Regions from separate parts of the Homo sapiens genome. Here all the other regions are linked to region 1. Evidence: promoter capture Hi-C in 16 types of primary human blood cells and fetal thymus (Javierre and others, 2016). All regions are on one chromosome and are shown on one strand. The core of a region is centred on a gene start or on the middle of the fragment in contact, and the rest is flanking DNA. Distances in the headings are between cores, read along the strand shown. Region 1 holds the start of ROR2 (receptor tyrosine kinase like orphan receptor 2). Region 2 has its middle 86 kb from the start of LINC02957. Region 3 holds the start of LOC105376143 (a long non-coding RNA gene). Region 4 overlaps LOC105379829 (a long non-coding RNA gene).

Region 1 (2,731 bases), core at 91-2,590:
TCAGCACCTACTCTTAAAACATTACTCTAAAAGCATCCTTAAGGATTCTAAGGGAAGCTAAAGGGAGGAAAACCCCAAAGATAAACCCCTGGCAGTCCTCTAACCACTGGGGAGAGCAGCCCCCCCGTTCAGACCCGCACCAGCCTGGGCAGAGGAACAGCCTGAGCCCGTCTAAGAAGTTTGGTAATAATTTTGCCATCCAGTTGAGGAGGGGCTAGGATCTTCTCCCATTCTCCTACTGGATTTACAGCAGCTCCTGGGAATGAGAACTGCGTGAGATATTTCCCTACACAAATTGGGTAGAGATAGCCGGACGCCTAAATACTTTTAACAGAGGTAACAAGCTAGAGCTGGCTTAGTCATTTTGTCCGCAGACCATAGCAAGAGAGTTTTTATTTCTGGCCACGTCTGAGGCCTCACGTCTGGCACCCAAGGCCAGGGCTCTCCCTAATGCCCTCCAATTAACAGAGCTTGGTACTCCAGCAAAAACACCAAACAAACTGCTGGATAATCAGTTAAAAGATCAATCTCATGGAACAAGCAACTGAGATGCTGGAGAATCCAATTCCTTCCTCTAAGAGGAAAAACAAAGACATTTGCATGTGCTGAGCAAAACCAAGAATAAGCAAGAAAACATGCTATTTGAATTCCGTTCAAAATGTCTCTAATAAGTGAAGCAAATTCTGCACATTCTGGGCCTCTGCAGAGAACAAATAGTGTTCTGCCTTTAATGGGTAAAATTATACAATTTGCTTTTAACAGTAAACCAAAAGCCGCGGTGGCTTCGGATAGCATCGCGCTCCCGAGGGCTCCCTCCACGCAGCTCGACCCCTGGCAGTTTTGAGCATTTCGGGGGACGCGCTTGTCCCCACCGACCTGGGAGGGCGCCGGTGCCAAGGCGGCCTGTTTGTTTTCCTGAACATTTCCTTTTGCAACTTTCGCTTCTCCTCTTCCTGCCTCACCGCTGGTGTCTGGGGCTGGGTGGCTCTCAGATTTGTCCCGGTGCGCAGTGCAGCCTGGAGTTACTGATTTGTGACCTAGATCCCCGGGTGTGTCGCCCCCGAAAGTCGGGGGCACCCGCTCTGGGCGCCTCTCCTGCGTGGGCAGACCCGCCGAACTCCGGCTGACGCCCCCAAGGCGCCACCTTTGTGTTCAAGCGTTCCGAGGCGCAGGCCCGAGGGCGGGCGCAGGAGGCAGGTCCGGGGCCCCAGCTGCAGCCCCAGCTCCTTGGGTCCCGCCCGCCGCCCGCGCGTTCCCCCGGCAGGGGGCGCCGGCGCAAGCCTCGCTCTGCCCATCGGGGCGGGCGAGCGGGGACCCTGCCTCCTGCGCGCTCGCCCGCGGTCCGCCCCCCGCGCTCGTCCTGGCGGCCGGCGGGACGCCCCAGCCCGCGCCAAGGAACCTCCCCAGCCAGCCCTTGCCGTGGCCGGAGCCGAGCGGCGCATCCGGGCCGGAGAAGAGGACGACGACGAGGTCCTCGAAGTGGACCCGTTTGCGAAGCGCCAGGGAGAAGGAGGAGCGGACGCATCGTAGAAAGGGGTGGTGGCGCCCGACCCCGCGCCCCGGCCCGAAGCTCTGAGGGCTTCCCGGCCCCCACTGCCTGCGGCATGGCCCGGGGCTCGGCGCTCCCGCGGCGGCCGCTGCTGTGCATCCCGGCCGTCTGGGCGGCCGCCGCGCTTCTGCTCTCAGTGTCCCGGACTTCAGGTAGGATCTGGCGTTCCGGCTTGTGCGCAGACGGTAGCTCACGGCTCGCTTGGCCAGCCCTTCCGCCGCCACTATGCTCCCGGCCGCTGCGCCGGCGCCCATGCTCCTGAACGAGGGGCGCCAGGCAGGGCCATTCGCATCTCGCCCGACGCCGCTCCCGGCCCGCACCCCGGACCCCCTCGGGCTGGTTACAATAAGCCGCGCTCTGGGGACGCCTAAGTGTTTCCAGAGTCTGGGGGCGGGCGGCGGCGGCTGGGAGCCTCTCGGTGGCGCTTCCCGAGGGTCGCGAGTGGGAGTGCGAGTGTGAATGTGAGTACCCGCCCTGGGCCCGGGACCCGAGTCCGCAGATGTGCCCCGAGGGTCCCAGGACCCGGGCTTCCTCCCCGAGGTCTTCCTCCTTCAAGGGCACACGGCCCCGAGTGTCCCCCGTCTGTCTCGGAGCGTCCCCCCACCCCCAGGGCGGCCTGATGCCTGGCAGAATCCTGGGGTGGACGTGGCCCCGGAGAAGCGGCTCTTGCGGCGGGGGTGGGGGCGCCGGCGGCTCCCGGGTCCTGACTTTCCCAGCCCGCGGGCCGCTTGATGGAAACGGGCTCTTTGGCATCCCTTTTGTTGGTCCCTGAAACCTCCTCTCCCCCACCGCTCTGGGGTGGCCGAAGTGGTGTGTGATCTGGATTGAAATGGTTTGTGACTGGGATCGCGGGTCCCTGAGCGGCTGGGGCGCGGCCGCCTTCTGGCCGCGCCGGGGGGACCCCCGGGACCTGTAGGAGGCTGGCGGCGGGAGGGGCGGGGCCCGGCTCCTAGGTGGGTTTCCTCCCGGGGCCCCACTTCCCCCGAGTCCCTGCGCGGTTTCGGCTGCTTGGATCCGGGGCGCAGAGGAACGGCGGGGAGGTTCGGAAGTGCAGCTTGGGACCTGCCTAGGTTGCCTGGAGGAGGCGGCGTTAGCTCTGGCGGTGCAGACTCCGGGAGCACCTCCCGCCCGCGCGCCTCGGGCCGGATTCTCGGCACCCTGCGGGGGTGGAGGAGGGCGGGC
Region 2 (2,731 bases), core at 128-2,627, 1.0 Mb after region 1:
GCTTGTGGCAGCTGGTCCTGGGAAGCTGGCTCTGGGAGGCAGTGGAGATCAGGGGTTCATCCAGGACAGCCCCTGGCGTCCATGCCTGCCACAGCAGAAGTGAACAGAAGCTTTGGATACCCTCACAGGGGCTCTGGAGCTAATGTGATCCAGCAGAGTTGCCCCAGGTGGCCCAAGATGTGCACAGCTGTACACACCTGCACAGCCCCATCTCCAGCAGAAGCACCCCCATCAACCCCGGCCTCTGGCAGGAGGTCCAGCCTATGACGTAATGCTACAAGGTGGTTTAACATCTCACCAGAAGAATTCAGGGCCCTAATGAGCAGACCCCCCCTCAGGCTCTGGGAGAACCCAGGAACGTTTTCGGCTCAGTCCTGAGTGCTCCTCCCAGTGGCCCTGCCTCATGGCTATGGGAGGGTTATTGTACAGCTAAAAGCACTCAGGCTGGGGGCCCTCTTCTGCCTCTTCCTAGGATGTATGATCACATGAATATATATTTGGTGCTTGTGACCTGGGCTGGTGGCCAGAGGGACGGCGCTGGAGCGGGAGACGTGGTGCCACGCTGGGCTCCCCTCAGCTTCAGGCTCTGGTCAGACTTCTTCTGGTGAGATGTTAAACCAACTTGCAGCATCACGTCATAGGCTGGACCTCCTGCCAGAGGCCAGGGTTGACAGGGGTGCTTCTGCTGGAGGTGGGGCTCTATATATTTGAGAATAAGTGAGGCATTTTGGCCACAGGCCGTTGAGCCGCAACCTCTCTCCTGCAGCTTCCTGAGTGGTGGTATATTCACATTTGTCTATTCTTACAAATGGCCCCAGACTGGAGGAGGTGCAGGCCCCACAGAACTGGAGTGCTTACCACCTGAACCCCTGGAAGTGTCTCCCTCCTGAAGGCCCTGGGTCTCAAACCAGCTGCTCATTTGACTTGCCCAGGGGCTTTAGACAGCTGCCAGGCCACAGCCCAGAACCAGGAGCCAGCCTCATGGACTTTCACAGGTGAGTGCCCAGTGCCTGTAGTCAGGTAGGGCCCCATCTACATCACCCAAGAGCTGAGAGAAATGCAGCCCCCCAGCCTCCACTGTTGCAGGACCTTTCCTTAGTTCAGCTAAAGACTGGGTCCTTGTCTGTCCCACGGCCATGAAAATTTAGGCTTGCAGGCAGTTGGAGAGGGTGAGTAAAGCAGGGTTTTACTGGATAAAAAAGAAGAAAAGGGGGAAATGAGGACTCTTGCGAGGCCAGAGTCCCTGCTAGAGGGCTTCCTGCTGCCATTCAAATCTCAGGTTCTGCACACGAAGAGGAAGGGCCAGGCTCCTCCCAGCTGCAAACATCATGAACTTCCTGAGGCTCCACCTCAGTGGACAGGCTGGTAGGAGTTTCTCGAGGGACCCCCTCCAACCTGGCTGACTCATTATGACCCACTGAGGCAGAATCTGCTTTTCAATAAGATTCCAATAATTGTCAGGTACAGGGAGGTGTGAACTGTGAGCCCTGGAGTCCTTCGCCCCCTTTCCGGAGTCTCCCTGTGCACTTACCTCAGGGGCCCGGGGAGGTGGGGGCATGGCTAGCATGGTGGGGCAGCCGACCTGGGGCTTCCTGTCAATACCTGGATTCACTTTCTGGTGGTGGGGACTGGGCGGCTTAAGCTACAGAAGTTGATTGTCTCACAGTTTGGAAGTTGGGAGTTTCTTCTGAGGCCTCTCTTCTTGGCCTGCAGATCGTGTCTTCATGTCTCCCAGTGTGTATGCCTATGCAGGTTTCCCCATCTTCTAAGGACACAGAGTCCTACTAAATTAGAGACCACCTTATGGCCTTGTTTTAACTTGATCTAAGATAAGTTATAGGTCTGCAAAGACCCTATTTCCAAATAAGGCCACATCCACAGATACTGGGGTTAGGACTTCAACATCTTTCCAGGGCACACGATTCAACACCACTTTACCCAGAATGACTCAGGGTGGGCGGGCCTGTGCATCCCCTCCTCCTGATGTGCAGGGGCCACCCAAGGCCAAGACCAATGAAGCCAGTCCCCTGGAAGGCCCCAGCCTCATTCCTGCTCCCCCTAGGTCTTCAGAAGGCATCTTCACCAACTTGCTGCACAGCCCCAGGGTCCAGCTCTGAGGGAACCAACCACACTCAGTCACCTAGAATCCTCTCTGAGCTAGGAGTGAGGCCTTAATCTGGGTCCACTGGGGGTATGCCATTCACAGGCACTTGAGATGAAGCAGTGCACAGAAGGACAGGGTCCATCCGCACAGTGATATGAGATGAATTATGTCTGCCCCCAACTCCCTGCCAAAAACATATGTTACAGTCCCAACTCCCAGAACCTCAGAATGTGAACTTTGCTGATGTAATTTGCTAAGATAAGGTCATACAGGAGTAGGACTGCAGGAGGACACAGGAGAAAGGCCTTTGCAAGTCAAGAAGAGAGGCCTCGGAAGGAATCAATCCTGCCAACACTTTGATCTCAGACTTCCAGCCTCCAGAGCTGAGACCATGAATGTCTGCTGTTTGCACTGCTTTGTCTTGGCAGCCCTATCAGACTACTACTGGCGGAGAAGCTGACAGGGAGGACTAGGTGTCACTGGATTCAGGGGATGCTGGAGACATGGGACCGGCATGCAAAACAAGACCTTGAAGCTTGGCCTGATCACCACACCCAGCTCTATGGAGGTACAGCAGACACAATCTGAAGAACTGGGACTGAAGTCCCAAAGTGCTGGGACTCCCAA
Region 3 (2,731 bases), core at 132-2,631, 1.0 Mb after region 1:
AATCTTCTGCCCCTGTGGTTCTAGCAATACAAGAATGACTGCTTGAGAATCTCTAGCCTGGCATCTCCAGGCCCCTGGCTTTCTTCTGTGCTGGAGACAATAGTGCTCCATAGGACACTCCTTTGTGGCTGGCACCCACATCCGCCTCCTGCTGGAGCAATGCTACTGAAGTCTCTAGCTGAGCCCTCCCCAGGGCCTGCCCTCAGCCAGGTTCTACCCCATCCTTGAGCTGCCCCCATCCAATGGCTGGTTTAGGAGGTGCACGAAGGTCTAGCCTGGTGCATTAGGACAAGCCTGAAGTGCCCCCAGCTGAGCCTTTCCTTGGGCCTCCACAGCTCAAATTCTCCTGCTACCCAGTCCTGTCTCCTTACTCCCTATGGGCATTGACCCTCGGGGCACCCCCAGTCTACTGCCTATGCACAAGTCAGAGGCTGTTCCTGGGAACTCTGTTATGACACATCCCTCCTCCCCAAACCCACACCTTGCGTGGATTTGGCCTTCTGGCCAGTGCCCTCTTCCCCAAATGCACCTGTAAGTCCCCATCTTGGTCCCTGTAGCAATCAGTGCTGTGCATTAAGTATGTCCTTCTGGGCTTGTGGGAGGCTTCTGTTCCTGGCCCCTGTGTCTGATAAGCTGGGGAAACATATGACACGTGTCAGTTCCAAGGGAACTGTTGGTTACAGCAGCACCATACTGAACATCTGACTGATAAAGCTCCTTTGGGTTAGAACCTCCCTCTCTGCATTTTTCTGGCCATTTTTACCTTCCAAATTCTGGACAAAATGCAGCCCTCTCTGTAGACCTCCAAATCCAGTAGGGATCCAGTGTTCGTCTTTGTTCTCTTGAAGTCCGTCTTCCCCAGGAGACTGACAATGTCTTCAGGACAGGAAGTGCATCTTAGTGACCCTCCATCCCTCACAAGGCCTTGGTCTGAGTAGAGAGGTAATGCTTGCTGAGAAGACAGGGGACTCATGAGGACCTGAGTGAGGTGCCCAGGATAGATGATGAATAGGCACGTGCGAAATAAGTTTGCCAACAGGAGAGCCATTCCTGACACCGGTGCTAAATGTCACACATCACGTTCCTTTCATCAGCCATAGAGCAAAATCCATGGACTCTCACTTATCCACTGAACACCCCACATTCTTAGACAAAAGAATGATTTAAGTGGGTCTGCAGTATTCTGTAACATATTGTTCTCGGCACCACATGCTTAATACTGATATCAGGTGTTTGCTCCCAGTTACTTCTGCAGGCTCATGTATTGAGCAAACATCAGTATCCTGGGGCCCAAATACTGCTGAAAGCAACTGAAAATATGACAGTGACTACCATTAATATCAGCCCTAATGAACTTTCCATTGTATCCAGAGTACCAATACTGTCATTTCAGCACCTCTGCATGGGTCTTAAAGGGCAGATCTACTATCCCTGCCCTCTGCAGAGGTTCAGGGAGGCTGACTGCCTGTAGGCGAACCACAGCTGGAATGGGGTACCTGCTGGGGGATTCTCACAGAGCAGCGTTCTGCTGTGGGGTAACCGCCGTCTCCTGCCGCTCTTCTGCCTCTGCCATTACTGGTCCTGTTTTCTGACTCACTTACAATATTTCGAGGAGAACCTGAGGGTTTCCCTCTTCATTCTGTTCCTGAATTATTTCCCCCAAATTATTTCAGATTATGTATTTACTTTTAATTATCTTTATATTGATTATTTGTTCTAAAACTCTGTTATGTTGATTTATTTCAGCCTTGGTATTTTGATAACACCACTTAAGCCTCAGCTGTCTGGCCAGTTAAATGAGACAAATCATATGAAGCAAGCACATGCTGATTTGTAGGTCTGCCTTCTCACTGACCTGCTGTGGGGCAAGAATTGGGTTGCAGCCCCTGATCTGCACAGGAGTGCACAAGCAGTCTGCCACCCAGGCAGCTTCTGTGACTTCACAATCAAAGACATTTCTGAGGCTGAAGATTCTTCCTTGACCTCAGCATCCTCCTTCACAGTACCTACTGCAGGGGTGACTACTGCTGAGTACAGGAGCTGGGGGAGATCTCGCAGGCAAAGAAGAGAGACAAGTGCGGTCCCATGAGACCCGGAATGCTTATGGTCTACCCTGCAGTCAATTGACAGCAATTCTTGTTTGGAAATCAATGCATCTGCACTCTGAGTTGCACTGGATCCTGGCGGACCAGAGCTCTGCACGCTTTCTACTCTCCAGCCTGTGTGCAGAAGTTGTAATACTAAAAATGACATTCTCCAAACTCCCTTGCAGCTAGATTCTGGGCCTGATTTTATTTCATTTTGACTAGGTGCACTTACTTGCCATTTACAGGACAGAAGGGAGTGGGGGCTGCGCTTTGCCGTGTCTGCCATTTCCATTGTGAAGCACAGTGGAGAGGTCCTGGTTTTCTGCAGCAGTTTTAGCAAGAGGTCCTGATTTCTGGGCAGTGGCTCTGTGAGTGTCAAGAGCAGGGCTTGGAGCAGCCATTTTGCTCATGAGCAAGTAGCAGACACTCATAGTTCTGGGCCTCTTTTTGGTCCCTAGCTCCTAAGGCGAGGTATTCCTGAAGCATTTGGTTGTGGCTGGTTTTCCAATTTCCTAATCATAATAAAGGTGGGTGATCTGAGAGCCAGAGGAAGCCCAGCATCCTTTCTCCCCACTCCATTGTCTAACTTCTTGCTGGAAGCACCATGGGTGGAGTCATCCGGCATGTCCACTAGGCTGCCTAGA
Region 4 (2,731 bases), core at 164-2,663, 1.0 Mb after region 1:
GCAGCAGTAGCAAACAGTCTGGAACCCTGGCCAGCCACCCCATCTACAGGCACTGAATGTAGAAATGCTTATGAGGGAAAGTGGAGAAGGAAGCGTGCTCCAGAGGGTTACAAAGGAAGTAGCTGCGGGGTGATGGAAGATTTGCAATCCAGATTTTGAATGGTCCAGACACTTTCCTCCCCAGACTGCATGGCCCCCTCGTCTAAGGATGATGCCTTATTTCTGGGCTTTCTCACGTCCTGTTTGTTCAGGTGAATTTCCCAGCAGTTCCTACTGTCTTCTGTGGTTTTCATCTCAAAATACCAAAATACCAAGACAGGGATTTCTAGTAGTGGGGCAGGCTGAGGGGACAATGCAGCAAGGAGATTGCTCTGAGAAGTTCAGGAAAGGTGTTGAGGTCAGAGCCAGCCTTCCAGGAAGGTAACTGGAGTGCCCAGGCCCTGGGCAAGCCCATGGCACCTCAATTCTCCTCCCATTGCACATTTTTTGGAGGAGCTGTGTCCTTTAATGTTAGGTCCCTGGGACCTGAGACTTATTTTGGATCTCCCACCTCTGAGGTTTATGAGCATCACAGTGTTCATAAAAATGCCTAATCTTAGGGAAAACTTTCTAAGCAGTCATGCTGCAAATGGAGAACATGTGCTAAAACTGGTAGAGATTTGATCACTAGTAAGCTGTTGGTCAAATTGACAAACAAGGGAAAACTTTTACAGAGATACAGAAATATTTTCCAAGTTATTTTATTGCTCTATGCATTTCTGAATATATGCATTTGATTATTCCCATGTATCCGTGATGGGCTTATTTTCGTGGCCCTGATGATCCCTGATATTCACCGCCTTGTGCTGTCCTTCCCAGTGACCTTGGCTTTTGACTTGATTTGGCCAGTGGATGTCAGAAAGCATGGCCCAGGCTTGATAAGAGCATGCAGGTTGGGCTTATATTCCTGGGACACCCTCTCTTACAGTGCTGAGCCTCAGGTAAGGAAATTCAGTTACCCATCTGGGAAAATGGCCACATGGAGAGAAAGGATGTCCAGGCAGCTCCCAGCCAAGTGAAGAAGCCATCCTGGATGTTCCAACCACATCAGACACTATTACCCAGCCCAGCTGAGCTCAGCCCAGATTGCCAAGTCATGGGGAATAATCAGTTGTCATTGTTTCAATTCAGTAAATTGTAGGGCTGTTGTTTGCAATAACAATAGATAGCAAAGACAGTGCTACTTACACAAACTGAAGCAACATTACTTATCACAATATACGTATATATAACAAGAAAGAATCAAATGAATCACTGAGGAAGTTTTATAGAAAAATGAGGAGTAGAAGAAATAATAAAGCCCAAAGTAAGTTTGTCTCACAGAAGGGCTTGCAGTTGCATCCTGAATGGTTGCAGTTGCATCCAGGTAGTGCTTAGCTTTGTGTGCCGAAATCAAACCCAGAGACATGATCAGCCATGAGATCCAGCACCTAGAAGGAAATGCAGCAGCGTCTATATGTAGACACTCGTGTCGATGTTGGCATGGAGTGTAAAAAACCAGGCAGAGCCTATTCCCAAAGGCTTCACTGAATGAGGGTTGAGTGTCAATTTTCCTTTTATCTTCTCTTTATGGTGAAATATAAAATACAACCAGAAAAGTACACAGGACCAAGATAATTTATCCACAAAGTAAACCTGCATAACCAGTACTCAGGTCGAAAGGATAACTTTGCCACTCCCAGAGGACCTGCCCCGAAAGGTAACAATTATCCCAACTTTTATAGAAATCATTTCCTTGCTGTCCCTTAGCAACTGAATAGTTGACTTAGTTTTGCTGGGTTTTGATCTTTATCTTAATGAAATTGTGCAGCAAGCGTTCTGGTGTATCTGGCTTGCTATGATGTTTAGCTGTAGATCATTCTTGTGTAGTTCCATACCTAGGAATACATCTTTATTATTGATTTGCATTTGGATCATTTTCAATTAGGGGCTGTAGAAAGCACTGCTGCCACAAGAATTGTATTTACCTCTTGGTGTACTTGTCCATGCAATGCTGTTCGGAACCGACATACCCAGAGGTAAATGTGCTGGGTCCTCCATTCTTCATGACCTTGGTTTTAATAATTTACACCAAGCAGTCTTTCCAAGTGGTTGTACTGACTTAAACCCTTTCCAGGGTGGTAGGGCTCTATAACTTTACACCTCAACCAAAGCCTTGGTGCTGCCAGGCTTTTTTGTGTTGGCCATTCTGATGCATGGGGCATGGTGATTTTCATTTAATTTTCCTTGATTACCTATTCATATCTTTATTGGTCATTTGAAGTCTCTTGTTTCATTTTCTACATGGTTGTCATTATCTTAATAATTTGCAGAAATCTTCTTCAAGTTAAACACACTACAAATATCTCCTCCCACTTTGCTGCTTACGTTTTTCTTTCTTCCTGGTGTCTTCAATGACTAGGGGGTCTTAGAATTATTGTAGAATAATTTATCAAGTTTTTCCTTGTATGGGTCATGCATTTTACTGCTTGTTTAATTAGTCTTTCTCTAGCCAATGTTCAAGAAGATATTCTTTTACATTTTTATTCAAAAGATGTGTTCTGACTTTCATATTTAGACCTGCAAATGTGTGTGTGTGGTATAAGGTAGCAATTTTCTCTTATTTCCATATGGATCTGAAGCAAAGCCACTACCACTTATTGAGAAGATTTTTCTTTCACGACTGCATGGCCATCTGCCTTGGACATAAATA

The links. Contacts are between HindIII fragments. The CHiCAGO score rates a contact against its expected background, and 5 or more counts as called.
Region 2: a contact is called between a fragment that was not itself captured here and the fragment with the promoter of ROR2 in region 1, in 3 of 17 cell types (M0 macrophages, monocytes and M1 macrophages). The highest score is 11.2, in M0 macrophages.
Region 3: a fragment that was not itself captured here is called in contact with the fragment with the promoter of ROR2 in region 1 in 6 of 17 cell types (M1 macrophages, M0 macrophages, monocytes and 3 more); the score reaches 11.9 in M1 macrophages.
Region 4: a fragment that was not itself captured here is called in contact with the fragment with the promoter of ROR2 in region 1 in 2 of 17 cell types (M2 macrophages and M0 macrophages); the score reaches 5.7 in M2 macrophages.

The regions. Positions count from the first base shown.
Region 1 is chr9:91,948,837-91,951,567 of GRCh38, reverse strand. It overlaps ROR2 (receptor tyrosine kinase like orphan receptor 2), which reads left to right and starts at 1,340. Exons shown (of 9, transcript NM_004560.4): 1 at 1,340-1,701. The coding sequence starts at 1,605. RefSeq lists silencers at 767-1,061, 1,175-1,354 and enhancers at 1,548-2,047, 2,048-2,549. The HindIII fragment of the contact is 6,243 bases long and covers 1-2,731 here.
Region 2 is chr9:90,909,889-90,912,619 of GRCh38, reverse strand. No RefSeq gene overlaps it. Among named protein-coding and RNA genes, the nearest start is that of LINC02957, 86 kb to the left of the region's middle. The HindIII fragment of the contact is 2,529 bases long and covers 113-2,641 here.
Region 3 is chr9:90,931,072-90,933,802 of GRCh38, reverse strand. LOC105379829 (a long non-coding RNA gene) reads left to right here. Exons shown (of 4, transcript XR_001746828.2): 3 at 1,747-2,731. LOC105376143 (a long non-coding RNA gene) reads right to left here and starts at 852. Exons shown (of 3, transcript XR_001746829.2): 1 at 764-852; 2 at 530-633. The HindIII fragment of the contact is 3,910 bases long and covers 1-2,731 here.
Region 4 is chr9:90,947,291-90,950,021 of GRCh38, reverse strand. The region is part of intron 1 of LOC105379829 (a long non-coding RNA gene); the gene reads left to right. Among named protein-coding and RNA genes, the nearest start is that of LINC02957, 48 kb to the left of the region's middle. The HindIII fragment of the contact is 4,284 bases long and covers 1-2,731 here.